2 separate regions of the Homo sapiens genome follow, and region 2 is linked to region 1. The links are contacts of gene promoters, found by promoter capture Hi-C in blood cells and fetal thymus (Javierre and others, 2016). All regions are on one chromosome and are shown on one strand. The core of a region is centred on a gene start or on the middle of the fragment in contact, and the rest is flanking DNA. Distances in the headings are between cores, read along the strand shown.

Region 1 (6,199 bases), core at 2,434-4,933:
TTTATGGCTGCGTTTTATTCCATGGTATATATATATCACATTTTCTTTATCCACTTGTTGACTGATGGGCATTGGGGCTAGTTCCATATGTGGTTAATCTTTTAGTCTGTTCATGTGATATAGCACATTGACTGATTTGTGTATGTTAAACCAGCTGTTCATGCCAGGGATACATTCCCACCTGATAATGACATATAATCTTTCAATGTGTTGTTGAATTCGGTTTGCTAATATTTTATTGGGAATGTTTCCATCAATGTTCCTCAGAAATATTGGCCTGTAGGTCTCTTTTCTTGCTGCGTCTTTGTCTGACTTAGGTATCAAGGTAATATTGGCCTTATAAAATGTGTTAAAATGTATTCCCTCTGGCTCTATTTTTTGGAAGGGTTTGAGAAATATTGGCATTAATTCTTCTTTGAAAGTTTGGTATAATTCAGCTGTAAGGCCATCTTGTCCTGAGCTTTTATTTGTTGAGAGATTTTAAATCACTACTTCCATTTCTTTGTTAATTATCTGTTCAGGCTTTCTACAGCTTCCTGATTCAATGTTGGTAGTTCGTATTTTTCTAGGAATGTCTATATCTCCTCTAGATTACCAAATTTTTTGCATATAATTATTCATAACGAACTAGTGTTCGTTATGATCTTTTTTATTTCTGAGGTGTCTGTTCTACTGTCTCCAATTTTATTTTTGATTTTATATATTTGAGTACTCTCTTTTGTTTTCTTAGCCTAGTTAAGGGTTTGTCAGTTTTGCTTACTTAAAACGCTCTTAGGCTGGGTGCAGTGGCTCATGCCTGTAATCCCAGCACTTTGGGAGGCCGAGGAGGGTGGATTACATGAGGTCAGGAGTTTGAGACCAGCCTGTCCAACATGGCAAAGCCTCATCTCTACTAAAAATACAAAAATTAGCCAGACATGGTGTCTCGTGCCTGTAATTCCAATTACTCGGAGGCTGAGGCACAAGAATCGCTTGAACTCATGAGGTGGAGGTTGCAGTGAGCTGAGCTTGTGCCACTGCACTCCAGCCTCGATGATGGAGTGAGACTCTGTCTCAAAAAATAAAAACAAAAAACAACAAAAAAACTCTTAGTTGTATTGATTTTTCTGTTTCTTTTTTTGATTTTCATTATTTCTTTCCTTCTTCTAAAGTTGGGTTTAGTTTCATCTTTTTCTAGTTCCTTGAGCTGTAATGTTAGGCTACTTATTTGGGATCTTTTCTTCTTTTTTAATGTAGGCATTTATTGTTATTACATAAACTTCCCTTTTAAAACTGCTTTTGCTGCATCCCATAGGTCTTGGTATATTGTGTTTCCAATGTTATTTGTCTCAAGATATTCTGTAATTTCCTTTTTTTTGTTTCTGTTTTGACACATTTGTTGTTCAAGAGCATTTTGTTTAATGTCCGTATATTTTTCCTGTTATTGATTTAAGTTTCATACCATCTTGGTCAGGAACAATATTTGATGTGATTTTGATCTTAAATTTATTATGACTTGTTTTGTGCCCTACCAAATGGTCTATCCGGGAGAATGTGCACTAGAGAAAAATGCGGATTCTGCTGTTGGATAAAATGTTCTGCATGTATCTGTTACGGCCATTTTGTCTACAGTGCAATTCAGTTTCAATATTTCCGTATTAATTTTCTGTGTCTTTGATCTGTATGTTGTTGAGAGTGGAGTATTAAAGTCCTCTCTCATTACTGTAGAAGAATCCAGTAGACATGGGTTGGAACCCCACCTCCAGCATGTGACAGCTGTATGCATGGACATATTTGTTGTTTCTCCTTAAAAAGGTTTCCTTTTTGTTTAAAGGACATGAAATGCCTTTTAGTTGTGCCTGTAAAGACTGTGAATCTTGCATTTGCCTGTGATCCTTAGCAGTAGGGTAAGCCCACATCTGGCATATGTGCTGGCCAAAATTACCCTGAACAACTCTCAATCTGTTTCTTCTTTCTGTAAAATGGAAAAGTGGCCACTGTACTGGACAGTTTTAAGGACTCTGTAAAACCATGTAGGCAACATAAAATTTCAAAACATCCCTGGACACTTTGGGAGGCCGAGGCAGGTGGATCACCTGAGGTCAGGAGTTCGAGACCAGCCTATCCAACATGGTGAAACCCAGTCTCCACCAAAAATACAAAAATTAGCCGGGTGTGGTGGTACATGCCTGTAATCCCAGCTACTTGGGAGGCTGAGGCAAGAGAATCGCTTGAATCTGGGAGGTGGAGGTTGCAGTGAGCCGAAATTGCACCATTGCACTCCAGCCTGGGTGACAAGAGCCAAATTCTGTCTCAAAAAAATCACCCAAAAACAAACAAAAAACTCTGGAAATTTACATTTTTAATGAGCAATTAATTTGGAGTACAGCCTAGCACGTGGATTGTTTTTACAAGGACTGTTAACCCACGAAAATATTTTCAAACCTCAGTTTTGAGAGGCCTTTCTCAAACTGTGTGTTTTAGTGAAAATCCATTTAAAATCATTAATTGCCTCTAACCATCTCATAGCTTTGGTCAGGTATTTTTTGAAGAATTACACATTGCTTGGCATTTGACCAATGTTAAGTGGGCCTACTGAAATCACCAGCAATCTAGAAATTAGAATTACTTGATTCCATAGTTATGTTTGTAACTAAGAGATTGTTATTATTTTATTTCAAAGCTACCATAACGTCCTGCATGTCTCCAGTTTATCTGATGGAGCTGAACTAATCTGAGTATATTATGAACACAAGCAAGTAAGTTATTTTTAAAAATGAACCTATTTGTACTAAAAATTTACAGGTAGAAGGGTCGTCTACTAACCATATTATCTAGAACTGTGTGGATCTTTAAAATGCTAAATTAGGTGGTGGTAATAAAAAAAGAATCACCTCTAACCAGGTGCAGCAAACACAAAATACAGTAAACAAATGAACATATCCTTGTGCTGTAATTTGTTATCAAAATATTATTTCTGGGAATGTGGGATGTCCACTGCTTTTTTTCCCCTTCTTCTTTCTCTTCTTCTTTTCTCTCTCTCTTTCTCTCTCTCTGTGTGTGTGGTGTGTTCTCCAGTCTCCAGAGACATAGACTAGAATTTTAAATTAAAATATTTAGACAACTAGTTACAATCAAACTTCTCCCACAGGAGTGGAAGGAAAGTCCAATGGAGAAATTGTTTTGTAAATTAAAGACATTACTGCACAAGCCTAAAATGATGTTACTGGGGATTTTAATCTTTTTACCTGGATTCAGATTAAAAGTCATCAGTTTTCCCTCTCATCAACAATTTATTCATTCATCCATTATATTTTTATGGATTGATATGCCCAACATTATACTAATTAATCCAATTTATAAGGTAATCTATAATCCTATTTAGGTTAGAAGGGTTTTTGGCAAATGTTCACTCTGGAAAACTGGGTTGTAAGAATATTGGCGATCTCAATTTTATTTCTGTGTATGTAAAAAGAAAGGCTTCATATCTAAAATAACTTTACCTAAGTATACAAAGTTGTTTCAGGGTAACAAAAGAGCGAAAAACAAAACTGTAAAAGGGCCAAGGACAGAGGAATGGGCAAATGAAGGAAGGGCGGAGAGGCAGAACAAGAGCTGAAGGAGAAAATTCTGTGGAGGGGTGTGGGAAAGGGGTGGAGCTGGCAACCTTGCCTTAAAAGCTGAGTGATAGCCCATACTAAAGACTGGTTGAGCCGGGTAGGGAAAGCAGCCTAAAGCCCGGGACAGGCACACAGGCCCAGGTGTGTAGGCCACAGCAGCCGCAGTCCTGAAAGGCTGCAACACCCAGACCTCCAGGAGAGACCAGGCCCAGGATGCCTCGCCTGTTCTTGTTCCACCTGCTAGAATTCTGTTTACTACTGAACCAATTTTCCAGAGCAGTCGCGGCCAAATGGAAGGACGATGTTATTAAATTATGCGGCCGCGAATTAGTTCGCGCGCAGATTGCCATTTGCGGCATGAGCACCTGGAGCAAAAGGTCTCTGAGCCAGGAAGATGCTCCTCAGACACCTAGACCAGTGGCAGGTGAGAGCTCCCGCCCCCTCCCGGCCTTCCCGCGCTTCCCATTGGTTACTCTGGGGCGGCCGCCCAATTGGAACGGCGGCCTGCACGTCCGACTCGAGATCTCATTGGCTGCCACCGCTCAGCCCCTACTCAGCCGTGGCTGGTCCCTAAAGTTTGGGCTTTTCCTTTGCCAGGTGATTTTATTCAAACAGTCTCACTGGGAATCTCACCGGACGGAGGGAAAGCACTGAGAACAGGAAGCTGCTTCACCCGAGAGTTCCTTGGTGCCCTTTCCGTAAGGCAGTCAGAGCGACGGGGTGGAAAGGGAGGGGAAGCCTCAGAGGAGGTGACGCCGCCCGGAGACCCGCAGGAGGCCGGGCGCACTCCTGCACCCCACAGGAAAGCCAGGCGGCCAGACAGCGGGCGTGCTGGTGGGGGCACCTGAACAGGGCTTCTCGGATAGAGAGGAGAGGGGACAAACACTGAGGCGGCGCGCTAGTTATCAAGCCTGTTTGCGCGCCTGTAGGACGGGGCAACACTCTGAGGTCTCTGTGAGGGTCCCGTGATGGGAAGACAGGAAGGGCCTTACACTTAATGACTCTCCTAGTCCAGAAGTTGGGCTGTGGCCTTTGCCATTGGAAACGTTCTTTAAAATAAACAAACAGAAAATCCCAAAGGAAAGAGTCTGACCTCCCGCTTCTTTGATCTGGGTATTGAAGTTCATTTGTGAGGCAGGGGATGGAAGAGAAAGGAAAGGCTTGAATGCCTTTAGGAGAAACTCAAGAGGACCAGAGACAAGGAAAGCAGGCCGTTCAGACCATCATAGCTGAAGACCCTACTGATGCTTTCAAGCATTTGGAAGCTGCAGTGGGTTTGCTTTAAAGGCAAGCTCTTAGAGTTGAGTACAGCTCAATCTGAAATGGCTTTTAAAAATATTTTAGTATTTATAAAGTAGCAGTGGAAACTCATGGAGGTATATACTAGTCTAAGAAGTGTAACGGGTCATATTAAATTCAGAGAAAGTAACCGCAGTTGCAAATACTAAGTGTTTTGTATTAGTATGACATGTAATTTATGATAAACCGCAACTAAATTTTATAGGCTATATGCATATACTATATATAAATGACTCTAACAGAAATACATTTACTTCTCTTTTATGAGATTTAAAGTATGCTTCTAAAGTTATTTACTTTTCTACATTGTTAGAGTTTGATTTATTTAATGGCAGTTTTTACATGACTTTTGTATAACATTAGTACAAAAATACCACAACGTCTAGGAATTTAGTGATAAAAAGTAGAGAAGACCGGATTGCATTGCATTTGCTTTATTATTCCACATTTTCTGACTATAAAAGTAGTAATGCTCATATTAAAGACAAATGTACATTAATGCAGCGTGAAAAATGAGAAGCACTCGTAGATATTAAGGACTTTGAAAAGTATATGTGAATTTTATGAGAAAATGAAATTATATTAAACAAGTAAGTGGAAAGAAATGTTAACATTTGGATAGGTATATGTATATATCTTTTGCATTTTCACTCACCATTATACTTTGAGCAGTTTCTCACATTGTTATTATCCCAAAACATAATTTGAAATTCCTGTGTAGTATTTTTGTCATAAATCTGCCACATAAACTTAAAGATTCTTTGGTGGATATTTAGTTTATTTCTAAATTGTTGCTGAAAATCATTAATCACATTTGTATATAGATATTTAGCTACACTTTTATTTCTTTAGAAGAGACATGAGATTTCAAAGTATTTTTAAAGAATTTTCTTTATTGCTATGCAGTATAATTTAACTGAAAGTAACCTCAGAAAATATTGCCTGCACGTGGGATTAAGATAAATGTTTACCGTTACTAGGTAGGAATCGCTTTGGAAGTACATGTCAGTAATTTGTGATTAATATGAGTTTTCAGACTTATACTGTTAGGTAATTGCTACTTGCTTTCACGTTATTACACTGTTAGATAACCATTTTATCTTACAATGTGTGCCAAAGTAATATTCACTGCATCCCTTTTAAAAATAAGATCCGCTTTAAACCAGAGATCTATTTCAGTAAGATTTGCATCCAAAATACAGTGAATTAAGGGTATTTGCATGAATTCAGACAGAATATTTTCTCTGAGCCTAGGTTCCATAGCTAAAAGTGTTATGGATTATGAAATATTTCAAAACAGG
Region 2 (6,199 bases), core at 1,009-3,508, 590 kb after region 1:
TTTACCACTTATTAGACTTCCAGATGTCATTAAGTTTATTTTTGGGTTTTCTTATTTTTTAAAATTTTTGGCTTTTCTATTCTGTTTTATTCATGTGCTGCCATGGGTTTGAACATTTGTCCCCATCAAAACTTACGTTGAAATTTATGCCATTGAGACAGTGTTGGGAGGTGGGATCTTTGGTTAAGTATTTGGCCCATGGGGCTCCACCCTCCTGAGTGGGTTTAGTGCCTTAATAAAGGGGCTTTCAGGCATGGTCTCTTTGTCTCTCTCTCCCTCTCTCTCTCTCTCCCACCAGATGCTAGCACCTGATCTTGGACTTCTCAGCCACCAGAACTGTGAGCCAATATGTTTCTTTTTCATTATAAGTTATCCAGTCTCAATATTTTGTTATAGCAGCACAGAATCCACCAGGGACTCATGTTGGGTCTACATTTAAAATATATGCAAGAAGAGGGCATCCGCAGAGGACAGCTGCCCGGCACAAGTGCCAGTCTGAGTGGAGTGAGGAAGATGTCTCCATGTAGACGGCAGTACAGTGTGGCTCAGGGTTTTGGAGTCTGCACAGAGTGAGTAGAATGCTCATAGCGATAAGCAGCCTGGCCTGTGATGTCAGAGCCCAGAAGTGGTGAGAAGGATGTCTGTGGAGGGGGTGGTCTGGTCCAGCATAGAGTATCAGAGCCCCAGCCAGATAAGAGTGTCCATATATCAGGCTGATGAGTGGTCGGTATGGAATTCTGTAACCCAAGTGGGGTGAGGAGGACATAGAATAAACTAAAATATGTGTCAATATTATTTTCTTATGGTACAGGCTTCCTCATTGTCCGTCTTTCTTAGGGCTTTCTCAGATATTCTTATTTATCTTTCCAAGTGAACGTCCTAATAAAATTGTCTTAGCTCTAAGGCGCCCTCTTCTGTTTCTTTTGCAAAGTGTTAAACAATATGACATTGTAGTATCTGAGTTCCACCTTCTCTGTTCTGTTCCTTGACTTTTGTCTAGACCTTATCTTTCTTTTTTCTCTAATATCCTTGTCTGGATAATTTGAATTCTACTCCCAGAAGTTTCTCCTCAGAGAAAGCATTTCCTATATGCATCCAGTACAATTTGAAATCACTAATTTAGCTGCTGAATAGTTATGGAATTTGGGGCAAAATTATCCTCATTTTTTAAATCTATAAATTGTAAATGAAATGTAATTTATTTCATAAGGGGTTTTTTTTGACAACTAGAAGTAATTTTCTTTTTTCTCTTTTTCCTTTTTTTTTTTTTTTTTTTGAGACAGTCTCATTCTGTCACCCAGGTTGGAGTAGAGTGGCACGATCTCAGCTCACTGCAACCTCCACCTGCCAGGTTCAAGCGATTCTCCTGCCCCAGCCTCCTGAGTAGCTGGGACTACAGGCAGGCGCCACCATGCCTGGCTAATTTTTTGTATTTTTAGTGGAGACAGGGTTTCACCATGCTGGCCAGGCTGGTCTCAAACTCCTGACCTTCTGATCTGCCCACTTCGGCCTCCCAAAGTACTGGGGTTACAGGCGTGAGCCACTGTGCCCAGCCTAGAAATAATTTTCAATCAGTTCTCAGTCCTACCTATCAGCAGAATTTGACTCATTTCATCATATTCTTCTTGAAACACATTCTTCAATTGACTTCCACGACACCATACTCACCCAATTTTCTTCTTAATTGGCCTCTCCCTCTCTTTCAGGTTTTTTCAATGTTTCTTCCATATCTTCCAACCTCAAAATGTTAGACAACCTCAGAACTCAGATTTCAGACCTCTCCTCTCTATCTAAAGTTGCTCCCTAGTGAGCTTGTACCATCTCAAAAATTTAAACATATTGACAACTCTCAAATTTATGTCTCCAGCCTGGACCTCTACCCTGTGGTCAAAATTTATACATCTGCCTCCTTCCTTATTTTCTCTGCCTGGATGTCCAACAGGTATCTCGAAGTTAACTTATTCCAAAACAACTCTAATATTTTCACCCAACCTGTTTCTCTTATAGTCTTCCCAATCTCAGCTAATGACAATTCTATTCTCCCAGTAGCTCAGGAGAAATCTCTTTTTTTCCCTCACTTTAATCCATCGAATCCACCAGGGACTCACGTTGGGTCTACATTTAAACTATATGCAAGAAGAGGGCATCTGCAGAGGAGAGCTGCCCAGCACAAGTGCCAGAGTCTGAGTGGAGTGAGGAAGATTTCTCCATGTAGACGGCAGTACAGTGTGGCTCAGGGTTTTGGAGTCTGCACAGAGTGAGTAGAATGCTCATAGTCATAAGCAGCCTGGCCTGTGATGTCAGAGCCCAGAAGTGGTGAGAAGGATGTCTTTGGAGGGCGTGGTCTGGTCCAGCATAGAGTGTCAGAGCCCCAGCCAGATAACAGCGTCCATATATCGGGCTGATGAATTGTCGGCATGGAATTCTGTAACCCAAGTGGGGTGAGGAGGACATCTGCATGGAGAAAGGGTAGGCAGTGGTGATAGAAGGTTGGGTATACACAGAGTGACTGATCATAAATGTGGATACATGAAGGACATGAGAGTCTGTTAGAGACACTAACTCAAAATCCAGAAGCAATGTGTTACTCTGTGTTAGGTAGATAAGAATAAAAGAAGACTGAATGTAGTGGTTCACACCTGTAATCCCAATATTTTAGAGGCTGAGGTGGGAGGATCCCTGGAGCCCAGGTATTTGAGACCAACCTGGCCAACATAGCAAGATCTTGTCTCTACTAAAAAAAATTAAAAATAAATAAATAAATAAAAATTAGTGGGGAGTGATGGCATGTGCCTGTAGTTCCAGCTACTTGGGAGGCTGAAGCAGTAGGATCAATTGAGCCCAGGAGGTTGAGGCTGCAGTGAGGTATGATCATGCCACTGCTCTCCAGCCTGGGTGACAGAGTAAGACTCTGTCTCTAAAAAATAAAATAAAATAAAATAAAAATTGGTGGCTTCAATATATGAGGAGAAGACAAGACTAGGATTGTAGTGAAGGATGGAAGGGAAAAAATGAAAATAAATCCTAGAATATTAGATCAGAAATGAAGGTATCAATGTAAACTCATGGCTTCAGTAATACATAGATAAACATAGAAATAAATGTAGATGTAAACGTGTGTGTAAATGAATACAAACATATTTACATATTCCTTAGCCCTGTCCTCTGAGAGGGCCTTAAAGCAGCAACACATTAATAGTAATGAGCACACTGAATGCACGGGCCTCAGTTTCTAAATTCCATATTCCACTAAAGGAAACCAGGGATTCTTGGAGAAATGGTTGATCTCAGCCATTTCAATGTGTTGCTGGGTCTAGGAAGTCCAAGATGAACCTGGACCTTCTTATGCCAGAAAGTAAAGAAGTGCACAAAGAGTAATGGGGACATGCCAAAAGGACACAGATGCTAGCTAACACGAAGGAGATTCCATTAGCCAAATCTTAAATGATTTGAACATCAAAATAAATAATAATGACAATGGCTTACAACCAATTTAATAAAATAAGAAACCATATAAATAAATGTAAGATAGTGAGTAAATTAAAAGTTTGATGAAAGATAAGGTATTTACAAAGTCTGAACTTCAACTACCCTCTTACAGAATACTTTTTTTTTTTTTAAAGACAGGGTCTCACACCGTTGCCCAGGCTCTAGTGCAGTGGTACGATCATAGCTCCCTGCAGCCTCCACCTCCTGGGCTCAAGTGATCTTCCCACCTCAGCACCCCACTCAACCCACTCCCTGAGAGGCTAAGAATATAGGCTGGGCCACCATGCCCAGCTAATTTTTTTTGAATTGTTGCCCAGCTGGTCTTAAACTCCTGAGCTCAAGCAATCCTCCCTCCTCAGCCTCCCAAAGTGCTGGGATTATAGGCGTGAGCCACCGTGCCGGGCCTAGAATACTTGTTAATTACAAATGGAAAAAGAGTAATTTCATAGTGGAGAGATCCTGCAGACACCACCTTAACTGGGTGATCAAAGTTAGCATCATCAATAATGCAACACATTAAAATCATATGCCATCTGATAGAACATAACAAAATCACAGCACTACTTCTGTAATATTATCTACCAAAGATGAATAAGCTGAATAGAATCATGAGAGAACATCAGATAAACTCAAAGAGAGGGTGTTCTACAACATAACCTTCCCATAATCTTCAAGAGTGTCAAGGTCATTACACTGGCATAGTATGGGAAGTTAAAAAAGAAAACAAAACAATGAACAAAGAGTGTCAAAGTCATAAAAGTCAAGGAAAGACTACGGAATTACTCCAGATTGAAAGAGAACTGAAAGAGAATAAAGACATGGAAACTGAATGCAATGTGTGATCTTGAAAATCACACAACTAAAATTTACTGTATGATTTCATAACTTCTGTTATAAAGAACATTAGTGGAACATTTGGGGAAAACTGAATAAGGTCTGATTAAATGTTAGTCATGTGATTTTTTTCTTATTTTAAAAGTTATAGTGTGGTTATGCAAAAATGTCATTGTAGGAAACATACATGAAAGTATTCAAGAATGATGGGGCATCTCAAATGGCTCAGAAAAAAAGAATCTTTGTACTGTATTTGCAACTTTTCTATAAGTTTGAGATTATTTCTAGGAAATGAATATTTGTATTCAGAATCCAACTAGCTCTCATCACCTATACCATGCAAGCTTAAGTCATCATCCTCTCTCACTTGCATTATTACTTAAAACCACCATGATCACTTTATTTTCTCCCATGGCTTCTGTGGTTCAGGAACTTAGGAAGGGCTCAGCTGGATAGTTTTGGCTTGAGGTGTCTCACGCAAGTGCAGTTAGATGGCTAGAGTTGGGACACCCAGGGAATAAAGCACTACTCTCTCCATGTCATCTCAGGACGTTCCTAAGTGGTTTCTCCATGTGGGCTAATCTGGACTTCCTTACAGCCTGTTGGCCTCAGGGCAGTCAGATTCCCCATGTGGCAGCTATAGGCTTCCAAAATGAGTGTCCTGGTGAACAAATCAGAAGCTGCTTTGTCTTTTATGACTTAGCCTTGGAAGTCACATAATATCACTTCCACCATGCTCAATTGGTCAAAACAGTCACAGAAGCCTATTCAGTTAAAGGTGGAGGGGACAGGGACCTCACCTCTTGATGGGAGAAGTGTCGAAGATAAGCTCATGGACTGGGAGTGGGCGTCGTGGCCATCTTCAGACAATACCATTTGCCACAGTGGTTTGTTAGGCCCTGTAAGGTCTGGACCCTCACTACCTCCCTGAGCTTTCTTGTTGAATAACTTTCATTTCTTGCTCTCTCTGTTCCAGGCAGAATGGCTTCTTTGGAAACTCAAGCACGCTCCTCCCTCAGGGGCTTTGCGTTTGTTCTTTTTCTCTCTAGAACATTCTTCCCCCAGATATTTTATTTATTTATTTATTTTCGAGACAGAGTCTCACTCTATCACCCAGGCTGGAGTGCAATGGTGCGATCTCGGCTCACTGCAACCTCCATTTCCCGGGTTCAAGTGATTTTCCTGCCACGGCTTCTTGAGTAGTTGGGATTACAGGTGTGCACCACCACGCCTAGCTAATTTTTGTTTGTTTGTTTGTTTGTTTATTGAGACAGAGTCTCACTCTGTCACCCAGGCTGCAGTGCAATGGCGTGATCTTGGCTCACTGCAACCTCTGCCTCCCGGGTTCAAGTGTTCAAGTGATTCTTATGCCTCAGCTTCCCAAGTAGCTGGGACTACAGGCACATGCCATCCCACCCAGCTATTTTTTGTATTTTTAGTAGAGATGGGGGTTTCACCATGTTGGCCAGGCTGGTCTCGAATTCCTGACCTTAAGTGATCCGCTCATCTTGGCTTCCCAAAGTGCTGGGATTACAGGTGTGAGCCAACACATCCGGCCAGGATATTCATTTATTTATTGAGACAGGGTCTTGCTCTGTTGCCCAGGCTGGAGTACAGTGGTGTGATCACAGCTCACTACAGCCTCAACCTTCCAGGCTCAAGCAATCCTCCCACCTCAGCTTCCCAAATAGTTGGGACCACAGGTGCACACCACCACACTGGCTAATGTTCTTCTTCTTCTTCTTTTTTTTTTTTTTTTTTGTAGAGGAGGGGGTGTCATTATGTTGCCTAGGCTGGTCTCAAACTCCTGGACTCTAGTGATCCTCCCGTCTTGGCCTCCCAAAGTGCTGGGATTACAGGTGTGAGCCACCACACC

What was found. The method cuts DNA at HindIII sites, captures the fragments that hold promoters and counts their contacts. A CHiCAGO score of 5 or more calls a contact.
Region 2: a fragment that was not itself captured here is called in contact with the fragment with the promoter of RLN1 in region 1 in 1 of 17 cell types (erythroblasts); the score reaches 5.6 in erythroblasts.

What each region holds. Positions count from the first base shown.
Region 1 is chr9:5,337,360-5,343,558 of GRCh38, reverse strand. RLN1 (relaxin 1) reads left to right here and starts at 3,683. Exons shown (of 2, transcript NM_006911.4): 1 at 3,683-4,023. The coding sequence starts at 3,813. It also overlaps a transcript of RLN2 not described here. The HindIII fragment of the contact is 10,294 bases long and covers 1-6,199 here.
Region 2 is chr9:4,744,934-4,751,132 of GRCh38, reverse strand. No RefSeq gene overlaps it. Among named protein-coding and RNA genes, the nearest start is that of AK3, 6.8 kb to the right of the region's middle. The HindIII fragment of the contact is 4,823 bases long and covers 1-4,669 here.